2 separate regions of the Homo sapiens genome follow, and region 1 is linked to region 2. The links are contacts of gene promoters, found by promoter capture Hi-C in blood cells and fetal thymus (Javierre and others, 2016). All regions are on one chromosome and are shown on one strand. The core of a region is centred on a gene start or on the middle of the fragment in contact, and the rest is flanking DNA. Distances in the headings are between cores, read along the strand shown. Region 1 has its middle 12 kb from the start of RPTN. Region 2 holds the start of CRNN (cornulin).

The links. Contacts are between HindIII fragments. The CHiCAGO score rates a contact against its expected background, and 5 or more counts as called.
Region 1: a contact is called between a fragment that was not itself captured here and the fragment with the promoter of CRNN in region 2, in 4 of 17 cell types (total CD8 T cells, total CD4 T cells, naive CD8 T cells and 1 more). The highest score is 6.4, in total CD8 T cells.

Annotation. Positions count from the first base shown.
Region 1 is chr1:152,168,458-152,174,392 of GRCh38, reverse strand. No RefSeq gene overlaps it. Among named protein-coding and RNA genes, the nearest start is that of RPTN, 12 kb to the right of the region's middle. RefSeq lists an enhancer at 5,638-5,935. The HindIII fragment of the contact is 250 bases long and covers 1,256-1,505 here.
Region 2 is chr1:152,411,348-152,417,429 of GRCh38, reverse strand. It overlaps CRNN (cornulin), which reads left to right and starts at 3,167. Exons shown (of 3, transcript NM_016190.3): 1 at 3,167-3,216; 2 at 5,184-5,334. The coding sequence starts at 5,197. The HindIII fragment of the contact is 578 bases long and covers 2,938-3,515 here.

The DNA.
Region 1 (5,935 bases), core at 131-2,630, 240 kb after region 2:
AAACTAAACTAAACTAAAAACATGTGTAGACAGAGTAGAAAGAGGAGTTCAGGCAAGGGAGCCAGACACAAGCTTGGACACTTTGTTTGTTAGGGAGTATTCCAGTTTCCTGGTGAAGCAGCTTTAAGGCCAGTGGTGAAAGGATGAGGAATAAAGGCAGAGTTGGTTCCTGTTGACCTTGCAGATAACTAAAAGCACAGTTAGGATCCCCATGAGGTGCCTTGCCTGAACTGAGGGCCCAGCCACTGCCATAAGCACATCAGTGGAAGGGCCAAAGCCAAGAAAGCCACCCAGGGTACTCTCAGGGGGCTTGCTAGATGTGTGTCACCCTTGTCATCACCATCAGCAGTGGCAGCTGATATTTGTTAAGCGTCTATGAGCAAGGCATTGTGCCAAAGAACGAGGATATATAAGACATTTTATGATTTCAAAGAGATTCTAATTCACTCTAGATAGTACAACAGAGCACATCACAACTCCACTGATACTTTCTGTTAATAGGAAGCATAGGTCTTGGGATCCTGGGGTGCTGATTCCAGCACTGCCTAGCGATGTGCCATTGTGTACATGGGCCTCTATTTCCATTTTACAAACAAATCAAATTTGATATTATAGTTTTCAAACTCTTTGACTGCAGAATCCTTTCCTCAGGGAAAAGCTTCAGATGTTTTAAAGATAAAAGCAGTGAGTTGAATGGGGATAAACAGCAGAATCCTGTCTGCTCAGCTCAGCCCCTGACAGGTGCCAAGGAACACAGTTTGAAAAATACTGGATTAGAGCTAAGCAGTGCTGGTCTGTTCCAGCTTGACGACTCTATATGGAGGTAGATGTTGATCTGAACCAAAGAAGCTCTATGAGATAAGATGTGATCCCCAAGTGCAGGTTGGAGAGAGATTAAAGAACTCGAGTGGTTTTGTTGGGAGTGGACATTGAAGGATGGGTAGATTTAAAGAGATTGAGGGGAGAATGAAACCTACTTCAGAGGACTTACCACCTTACTGGAGATGTGGAAATGCACCCAAGGCTAGGCAAAGAGATCATTTTAAGTAGAGCAGGGGAGTTTTGAAGGGGAGATGGAGTCAGAAATAGAAGACAGGACAGATTATGAAGACCCAGATAGAGAAAGGTGTCCTGCTTCTAAGGCCTCTGGTGCCCCCCCCACCCAGATCAGTGGGGTCTGTGACACAAGAACAAGAGAACTACTGAGAAGTCTGCATCAGTTCCCACTGTGGCTGTGGCTGACAATCATCAAGCTTCCCTGACACCTGTCACATCCCTTGTAAGTTCATCAAGTGCCACATTACTAAGCTCTCTTATCACAAAGTCCTATAAGGGAAAGAGGTGGGGTCCAAAGGACAAGGACTTAACACCCAAGACAATTGTGCCCAAATTTTCCAAACAGTAGCTAGTGTGAGCCTAAGGAGAAACAGAACTATTGCCACAGCGAAATCTGAGAGGCTTAGCAATGTCAGGTAGATCTCCTAATTTAGGAGGCGCTAAAAGCTTTTAAACTACCATCATGTCCTTAATCCTAAAATGCCATTAATCCCCTGTAACACTTCTGCATTCTTATGAGTATGTGGGTGGCAATAGCTATTATCTTCATTAAACTGGGAAGTAGAGGCCAAGGAAAAATCAGTCATGATGTCTAACACAACAAGAAATGTGAGATGGGACTTGAAATCTGAGGAAATATTCAGCAAAGAAAGGAGTGGACAGAAGACAAGGACAAAGGACTGGAAATGAAGAAAAGACAAACTCCAACTGAAGATTCCATCTCAGCTGGGAAGCCTTTCCTAATCACCCTCTAGTAAGAACAATGCCCTGCTCTGAGCTGGAAATGTCCTAATGCAGCATCCCTCACACTGTTGGGTAATAACCATTTACCTATTTCCTTTTTTTGGACTGAAAGGTCCACAGAGTCATGGAGCCTCTCTGTCTTGTTCATGGTGTGTCCCCAGCGCCTAATATTTACTGGGTAAAGGAAACTAGAGAGCCTGGGCCAGGGAAGGAAATGAGACTCAGGAGCACACAGTTAAACATAAATAACCCAGCTGCCCAGGACCAAGGAGGCCTCTGGTTGAAGCCAGAGAGAAAACTTCGCCTCCTTCAGGCCATTATCAAATGTCACCTTCTCAGAGGGGCCTTCGCTGGTCACCTGCCCAGTTACAAATCACAACCTGTCCCTGCCCCCCATTCCACCCACCATCCAGCACTTCCTGTCCCCTTCCCTGTATCTTTCTCACCATAGCACTTGGCACTGACATACACACGTTACTTCTTTGTTTATTGTATGTATCCCCAGCCTAGAATGTAAAAGCTGTATGAGGGCAGGATTTCACTGCTGCAAACTCCATCTCTAGAAGAGTGTCTGATACATAGTCGGTTATCAATAAACATTTGTTAAATGAAGAAACCATAGAATGCATGAACCTTTCTAACCCAAGGTCTATGGTAGTCCTCTAAACTTTTCAAATGTAAACACTTCTGCCAGGGTTTCTTCCCTGTGTCTCCCACTTGTGAAGACCCAGGGGAAATACCAATCCCTTATTCTCCACTCGGTCTCTTTCCAACCCTCCATCCCTCCTCTTTGCTCTTAACAACCTCTGTTCTTTGCCCTCTCACTTCTCTCTCTCATTATGTTGGTTCATAGAAACATCCAAAATGGCCAATTTGACACCAGCCCCATGTGTCTTCAGACAAGAGCCTGCCTCTAACTGAGGCCCCAGGAGCAGAATGCAAGAAAGCTAACGAAACCCCCAAGGCTAAATGGCTAGAAAGGTACCCAGATGTTCCAGAAATCTATGAACAGATTCTTACTTTCCACAAGGCACCACTTCTTGGATCGAGGAATTCCCCTAAACTATGCCCTGTTGTGTAAAATAAAACTTCCTTCCCTTTGTCTTAATCTTACCTTTTTCAAGCCTTAAAAAGATGGGACTTCCTTATTCTAGTATTTTAGGTAATTGTGATTATAACTATATTCATATAATACAGGCCTTTCTTGATCTTATAGTCTTCCACTTAACCTTTTCTCTGCTGTCATCCTCTCTAAATGAAGAGACTTGCTTTTACCACTCAATCCTATCAACAAACATTTACCCACCATGCCAGGCACTGTCCTAGGCACTGAGGCTACAAGGTGCTTACTTTCTAGTGGGGGAGAGAGATAATAAATGAACAAATATGTACTAATTCAAGTGACGGTAATAAGTGCCAAGAAGAAAAATAAAGCAGAGTAGTAGAATGGAGAATTAGTGGGAAAAGTTTGCTATTTACAGGATGGCCAGAAATTTTTCTGATAAGGTGACACTTGAGTAAATACTTGAATTAAATGAGGAATTAAATCATGTGACTGAGGGAACAGTATTTCTGTGGAAACAGCAACTACAGAGGCCTTGAAGTAGGAGATTCTTTGTCATCACCTTCTAGTTAACTTTTTCTAATATTTCAAAATTACTTCTTACTTATGGGTTTTGGAGGCCAAAACTGCACTCAGTATTTAAGAAGCCAGTCCACTAAAGACTTTTTATAATGATGATGATAAAAAATAATCATAGTTTACATTCATTGAGGGCTTACTATGTGCCAGTCACTGTATAAGCTCATCCAGCTCATAAGCACCAGAGCCAGCATTCAAACCCAGGCAGTCTGGCTCTAGAGCCAAGTTAGCTAAGAGTATTTCTGTTTCATTTTCTGTACACAGTTCAGTGGCATCCATCATTTGGTTCTCCTTTTTAAGTTATTCACCCGAAGGCATTTCCCAGAGCATGCTGTACGTTAGGAGCTGAGCTGTGAGCTGGGCAAACAAAGATGAATAAACCATCAATGGAGCCCTTAGGAAGGCCACAGCTCTGCATGGAGGACAGGCAAGCCAGGAGAGCAGCACAGAGGATGAGTGCTGCACAGGAGGTGGCAACACAGTGCCGGTAGACACAGCCAAGAGGTTAGCAGACAGATGGACACACTAAGGCACGTGCTCAACAGGCAGTACAGTAATTCCTGGGCCCCCCTTTCCTGGGTCAGAGCCCACTGTTCCATATGGATAATTTGGGTGGGTTTCAGTAAAAATAATAATCATGCTAAGACATCTACGAACAGAAAAATAATATTGAAAGCAGCTAACCTGTCCTGAGTGCCTACTATGTGCCAGCAGAGTTCTCAGCCCCTTGTTTTCATGAAAACTCCATGCTGTGACAGAGATAAGAGGCCCTATAAAGGCCAGCGTCTTGTATGTTCACAATCTAAAGATGGATGCTTACTGAGTAATAGGAAGAGAAAAGGTGGATATCAGGTCTGTTGAGATAAGCCTAGAACAAAAGTACTGGCCTAATATTATGGGCAAGAATTCCTACATTCTGGGAAGACTGAGGTAGAGAGACACTAACATGAGACCAAGATCCTATAATAAAATCAAGCAAAAGCTGGTTTTTCAAAGGAAGGACTCTGCATGAAGCTGAAGCTGCTGATCTAGTATCAGAGACTGGGCCACCCATACAAGGAGGCACAAGGACTACTTACTGGTGAAAATGTAAGAGTGTAACAAGTGAGCGACTGGATTACAGCTGAATCAGCATATACAGATTGCAGCGCAGGTTAACATCTACTTTAGTATACAGTGTTAAGTATGCAAGTGTTGCAGTGTCTGCAACACTTCTGTCAGCCTCCCTTCTCACTTTTTCTCCCCTATCCTCCCCTAAGCCCTGAAACGTGCCATCCTCCCCTTCCCTCTTCTCCTGGGACAGGAAAGTGCTGCTGATTCTGATGCTTCACAAAGGTAATGATTTATTCATTCTCTGCCTCAGAATGAGTCCTTCAAGTTTGATGGCAGTTTGCAGAACCAGGAATGGAAACCAGTTCTTCTGACCCCAGATTCAACTTCTCTTCCTGACAGTGCAGTTTCATGTGCTTCACACTACATTCCTCACTAAATATATTATTTCGCACTTGCCAACAATTACAATTCATATCATTTTCCTGCCCATTCTGGACTAAAGAGAGATGTTCACCCAAAATCACCACTGAACAAATAATGGAAATGATCTTCCCCTGCTTCCCTGTCTTTCTCCCACCCCATTCATAGTCATTCCCTTGTGGAAATTTCCCACCTCCTGTTCTGCAAGATGCATTGCTCTCCAAGAAGCATTTGATGAGAGCCTTACCCATGATGCTAGGTGGCCACGGGAATGTATTATGAAAGGCCAGGTTATGGCAAAGATGAGAGTGTAGCTTTAAACAAATTCTATAAAATGTTATACTCTCTGTAGTCCACATCCTCAAGACTTAAATTAACAGCACAAATCTTATTAGCCTCACAAAGTTCCTTCATTGTTTCTCAAATAGCATAGTTCAGGGAGCATCTCACCAGTGTGGGTGGCCAATGCATTAAATCATAAGAGCAATTAATCTCTGTTCATAAAGTACTTGAGCTCCTGACACATCCTATAAATGTAGGCCTAAATAAACTCAGGAGTGTGCCCAAGGAGGTCAAGATCTCTGATGCTCAATGAGTTTCCAGAAAGGAGATAACAGCCAGGCTACCTTGGAAGGGAAGGAGAGCAACACACTGAATGCATAACCCCCCATGCCAGGTACTAGGCTAGGCACTCACATATTCGAGCTCATTTAATTTCTTCAACAATCCTGAGAAGAACTGCTATTCCCTTGCAGATCTGCCTGACCTCAGAGTCATGTTCTCTCTGCCTTGGACTGGATCCATAAATGTGACAAGAGGAAAACATAGAACATAGAGTCCTGGGACAAGTATACATGTCATATGCTTGTGTTAGAAAGTCTGAATTCTGACTATAGTTTTGCTATTAACTTGTGTGACCCTGCATGACCTTGCAAAAATCACACTGTCTCTCCTGAGACAACTTTTTGCTTTTCAAAGGCAGGAAAGCTCTGGATACTTGAAACAGTACTGTGGAGCCTG
Region 2 (6,082 bases), core at 1,918-4,417:
TTTTGGTGTGTAAAGCCTGTTTGCCCAATTGGGCTAATTTTCTGGAAAGCAATCTTAATTTATAGCCCACTAAGTGTGGCAAATACTGCTTGTATCTTGTAGAAATAAATCAAGTAGAGGTCAGCAATACATTGTTGAGTAAGTGTATAAGAAGGAGTCAAAGTGCAAAACTGGGTTTTCATTGCTGAGTTGCTGATCCAGCACCTGGTCTCACTGCCCTCCAGCATACCCGTAAAATGTAACTGCTAAGTAGACTCACTAATGTCAACTTAAATAATAACCACAGTGAATCTCTCTTAAAAAAAAAGTTACCTATTTGAGAATAGGGCATTGCAATGGGAATACATGTGCCATAGTAAACTACGTGCATATTCAGGAGGTAAAGGAAAACAAAAGTTCTTACAGGAAAAACAATGAAAATTACATAATTTTATTGAAATGTGTATTCTTGGCTACAAAGATCAATAACAATGGTGATGCTAATATGAAGTTGGACAGGCAGCTGCTGGACTGATGTCCTCACAGAAGTGTTTGTTGTGTAAGGCTATTATGGCCTTTGTGTAAGGTTGTGGTTTTTGCAGTCTTTTGTGATAGTTGTGTTATCAGGTGTACAAGCATGAGAACTCTCTCTTCGCAGCCTTCCTTAGCTCTATATTTGTCAAGGATTTTTTTGAAGACAAGTGACTCCATTTTGATTCTGACAACTTGCACACTAACTTATAACATCTCCTCACCAACTTTATAAACTAACAAACTTACACAGTCAATTACAGGCTCAGTCCCAATCTCTGCCAACTCATCTCCCCCAGCCCCACCTGCACACTTCAACCCACCTCCACTGGCCCAGCACACACATACAGTTCTTTAACCTCTACTTCTATGGTGCCCCAGCTCCTCACAGCTCAGTCCTGCCCCAGGCACACATAAAGACCTATTAGGCTTTGGAGGCAGGCAGACCTAAGTTCAAATTCAGGTCTAACTTCCTAGCTATGTGACCTTAGGTAGTTTACTTAAGTTTACTTACTTACTCTCTGTGCCTTGGTTTCTTCATCTATAAATTGGGTTAATAATACCTACCAAATATTCATCTTCTAGATACAGCCTCTGGCTTGTTACTTCCCTAACTTACCCTCAGTTCCCAAACCTTTCTGGAAGTTCTAAGCCCCATCAGAAAAAGCTTCAAACACCACCACAGAAGAAGGTCTAATCGGCTCTCCCTCTTGTTCTCCAACTTCACCCTCTCATACTGGCCTTCTTCTAACTCTGATCAGGCAGAAGCAACCTCAGCCCCCTCTTGCTCCCAAAGGTTGAAGCCCCTACTCTGCTTTTCCCTGGCTGGTATGCCTACCCCACCTTCACCCCAGGACTGGAGCCAACCTGTCCCCATGTAGACAGATCTCTCCAAACACAAAGCCTGCATCCTGCCCTCCTGCAGTCTGGAACTCCCCAGTGCTCTGTGCCCTGAGGGGAAGTGCTGGAGGCTGTGCTGTTGCTACAGGGCTGCCCTCAATACACCAGTCTCTTCAACCAAGGCCCTTACCATGCCTTCCTATCCTGTTGTTCCCTTTCCTGTCTGTTGCATGCTGATCTATAAGTGAGGATGGTAAAGATGGCTTTCCCTTCCAGAGTCACTCAGGAAGCTACACAGTATATATTATCTGCAAAGTGCCACTCAAGAGCACTCTTTGGGACTTGGCTTCTGAGCTCAGAAAACTTCCTCCTCAGGAATGGTTCTTCATGCATTGAGGATAAGTGTGATGTTCATAAGGTGCCAAAACTCAATGAGAGAAGAATAAATGGCAGCATGGTGCAACAGAGAGAACACAGGCCTGGAGTCTGAGGGGCTCTAGTCCAGCACCGTCTCCGCTTCACAGAGTGGCTACTTCTCTGAGGATTTCTCAGTGTTCTCATTTATGAATTGGGCTTAGCCATACCACCTCAGAGGATTGCTAGGGAGATCAAATAAGATGAGATGGTAATGAAAATGGAATAAAATCAAATGAAATGAAATGGCAATACCATTATCATTAACCTCTTGGGGACTTACCCCTGGGATGGCCAGGCTATAGACTTCATGAGAGTTGAAACTGCTGCCATCGTATTCAACACTGTATTCCTAGGGCCTTAGCCCTCTGCCTGAAATGGAGCAAGCTTTCCATAAATATTTGCTGATTAGCCACCAGTTGAGTTTCCTGTCCTTGCAATGAGGAGTTACCACATGATCATGGTAAGCCTTTTTTCTCATCAGCTACAAAATGCTACCTACCCATAGCATGGGGTGGGGAAGGTATTAACTTTTTTTGTTTTAATTAAAAATGAGACCAACTTTAAAGAGATGAAACTGGCTTTCTTGTGTCTCATACACTAGGTGTGAAAGGCACTTACAAAACAAGAATTCAAAAAATGTTCTAAGTAATAACAGTTCTAAGTAACATCACCACAAAAACATGTGTGCCCTCTCAGAGTGGCTACTTTGTAAAAGTTAACCTCAATAGATATATTCTTGAACATTTATATTAAAAAAGGAAACAGTGGCCAGGCACGGTGGCTCACACCTATAATCCCAGCACTTTGGGAGGCAGAGGCAGGTGAATCATGAGGTCAGGAGTTCAAGATCAGCCTGTTCAACATGGTGAAACCCTGTCTCTACTAAAAATACAAAAATTAACTGGGCATGGTGGCAGGCACCTGTAATCCCAGCTACTCAGGAGTCTGAGGCAGGGAATTGCTTGAACCCAGGAGGCGGAGGTTGCAGTGAGCCAAGATCGCACCACTGCACTCCAGCCTGGGCGACAGAGCAGGACTCCATCTCAAAAAAAAAAAAAAAAAAAAAAGGAAAGAGTCCCATAACTTTGTAGGCTCATAGAGACAAAGAATGTTCACCAGGACCCCAGCCTGTACCAAGCACTGCTGAGCCCATCACAATGGAAAGAAGCTTCCCTGTCAAGAGGACTCAGCTACAGAAGGTACCAAATGTGGTAGGAGGGGCCTGTTAATTAGACCAAGGCAGTCACACATCAGCAGGTAAAACAGAGACAAGAGGAGGTGTGGCTGGGCTGGGCTGGATCTTGGATGAATCAAGCCTTCCCATAGGGCAGGATATCCTGTCTAAAACAAGAGCCTTGGTTAAAACCCCTATAAAAGGTTCTCATCACACTGACCTGGTACTCCTCACACCACTTAACAGCCACTTGTTTCATCCCACCTGGGCATTAGGTAAGTCCCCTCATAAGAAACCTCTTTCTCATTCTCAGTGTCTTGGTGATCTGAGCTCATAAAACTGGGGCAGTCAGGTATGGACTATGCATCCTTCAGAGCTAGCTGTGAGCACTGGGCAAACCAACGCTACCGTTGGGAAACATGCTCTCCTGAAGCAATCAGGCTTTCTCCTCCTCCCTGAGGCTGGCCTGGGAGCAGCTCCTCTCACTGGGAAACTGTGTGGGCAGCGGCTATGGGGCCACCCATGTGCCTTCCTGGATCAGCAAAGGTTTCTTTTTTCTAAGGCTCTGGAAGCTTCTTTGCAGTGCTGAGAGTCTATGGGATCAGAATCAGTTTACTTATGCCAACCTAGACAATAAGATCAAACTGTGTCATGGATGAAGGGGTTTACATGATTCCCCTCTCCTACACCAGGGTGATATTTAGGCAAAATATGTGTAGATTTTTCTAAGGAATCTAAAATGTAACTAAAAGGTCATCTTATTATTTTATTATCTAAAGGTCAGTGGTTAAAGTCTGCTACATGGTTTTAAAAAAAAAGAAAGATATTTTTCATCTATGTTGAGGAAAACATCCCCAGTTTTTTACCTTGATGAAAAGTTTGCCTGAAATTGTTGGTTACCAGGTCCTAGAAAGGGTTTCTCCTGAACAGCCCACCTTTTGCTATGACTTACTGAGTCCTCATGGCCACACTAATCTGCTTTTTCTAGAACTCAAGTCTCCTTCCTTCCTTTTTTCTCTTTCTTCTCCTACCTATATCTGCCTCGTCCCATCCTCTCTCTGGCTTTCCAGCTGCTACAGGCTCCATCTCCCCTTGCATTTGAGACTTGTCATCTTTGATACCATCTCCTCCTTTGGGTCTCTCCAAGGCTTCTGCTTAATGAATCTTCAAGTCTCTTTTCCTTTTGCTCATGCAACCAAACCCAGGCCTCACCTCAACCTACCTCTAGATTTCTGGCTAATGAAAAAGAAAAGCTTTCCCTTTGATTAGGAACCAACTCATAGGTCACCAGAAATCTGGGCCTGATGGAGCCACGTGCCTGTTGGGCAAGCTGACTTCTCTGATAAGTCTCAGGGCTGTGGACAGAGGCGACATGCAGAGAAACTTGGACCCTCAGAACTGGAAGGCCTCCCACCCAAAGAAGGTTCCCCCCTCCTGAGCATTCCCAGCAGGTGGTAGCCCAGTTTCTTCCCACTTTCCCAAAAAAAACAAGAAGGGAGGGCTGTGTCCCTGGAATTTCTGCTTGGCTCCCATCCAAGACAGGGGTTGACTCACAGATGTATTTACTTCCTTTTGGTGTTCCCGATGGGACCCTAACACCCTTGTGATAAATAAATAAATCCTGTCCACAGGGTACATTCTAGAAAGCCCATTGCATTTGGGTTAAGGAAAAATGGATCCTAGGATTTCTTGGCTCCTTAAAAATTGTGTGGCCTAACTTCTCTGAGCCTGTTTCCTCACCTATAAAAAAAAGTGGAAATAATAAGGATTAGAAGAGATGATGTACAGGAAAGTGATTATATAGGTGTACAAAAATTATATGTGTGTATATGTATATAATAGCATAATAATTATATTTAATAAGGAGCACTTAATATAAGCCAGGCATCTGCCAAGTGCTTTTTATGAATTATGTCTTTAAATCTTCACAATAATCCCACAGAGTACTAATATCACCTTCAATTACAATGAGTAGTAAACTGAGGCATGGAGAGGCAAAGCAACTTGTCCCAGCTCACACCATACTTAAGTGGTGGGGCCAGCATTTAATCCTGACTCAGGAACCTGCCTCCATCCTGTGTGCTCCTCCTTCCCATACATAAGATGCATTATGTAGGAAAGGACAAAGGAAAACTAAAAACAGAGCTGAACGTGCAAGGAAAGACCTAGCAGCAGACGTGCTATAAAGGAAATAGCTGAGGTTGATTATGGAGCCTCCAAGGGAACTTTTCATCTTTTCCAGGTTGACTTCAAAGATGCCTCAGTTACTGCAAAACATTAATGGGATCATCGAGGCCTTCAGGCGCTATGCAAGGACGGAGGGCAACTGCACAGCGCTCACCCGAGGGGAGCTGAAAAGACTCTTGGAGCAAGAGTTTGCCGATGTGATTGTGGTACGGTGTGCTGAGCCGGGTGGAGAGGGGACATAGCAGGAGAGTGAAACCTGGTTTGCCTGCAGAGGCCTTGCCTGGGGAATTTGAGGAGGCAGCAGCTAAACCCAGGCCTGCCGGGACAGATGGCAGCTGTGCAGGCAGAAAAAAAGGTGAAAGAACCAGAGATGGTCATGGGAGTTGGCAAGTCCTGGCTCTTTAGATTAAAACCTTGGTTTTAATTAATTCTAACTTAAAGACAAGGTAAAAGGGCTCTAAAAGGACAACTCAGACAGGAGCAGAGCCTTGGAATATTTCAAAATGAAAATAATTGCTGCTTTCTGCCGCCTCTTAAATTTGATACAGTAAATATTTCCCACGTCTATCTGAAATGTAATCATCCATTCATAGACATTCATTAGAAGCATAGCTCTGGGCTTGCACGAAGCAGTTACTCAAAAATATTAGCAGACTGATCACATCAGAAATGAAATTTTGAAGAGCAGGTTGTTAATAGCTAGGGGGAGACTTTGGAGCCTCACCCCACCCCACCTGGCAAACCAGAACCAAGGCCTTGATGCACTTTCCTGTCTTTGGTTTGCATCTAAAGCAACCAGGATGATGATGGCCTTAGGGACAAGGACATATGGGCACAGAAGGATGCTGCATCCACATGCTCAGGGCAGCGCTGCAGGGGCCCACTGCTTCCCTCCCTCTTTATCATGGGGAAACATCTGGGCCTCAATGAGGAGCGCACAGAATTCCCATGGGG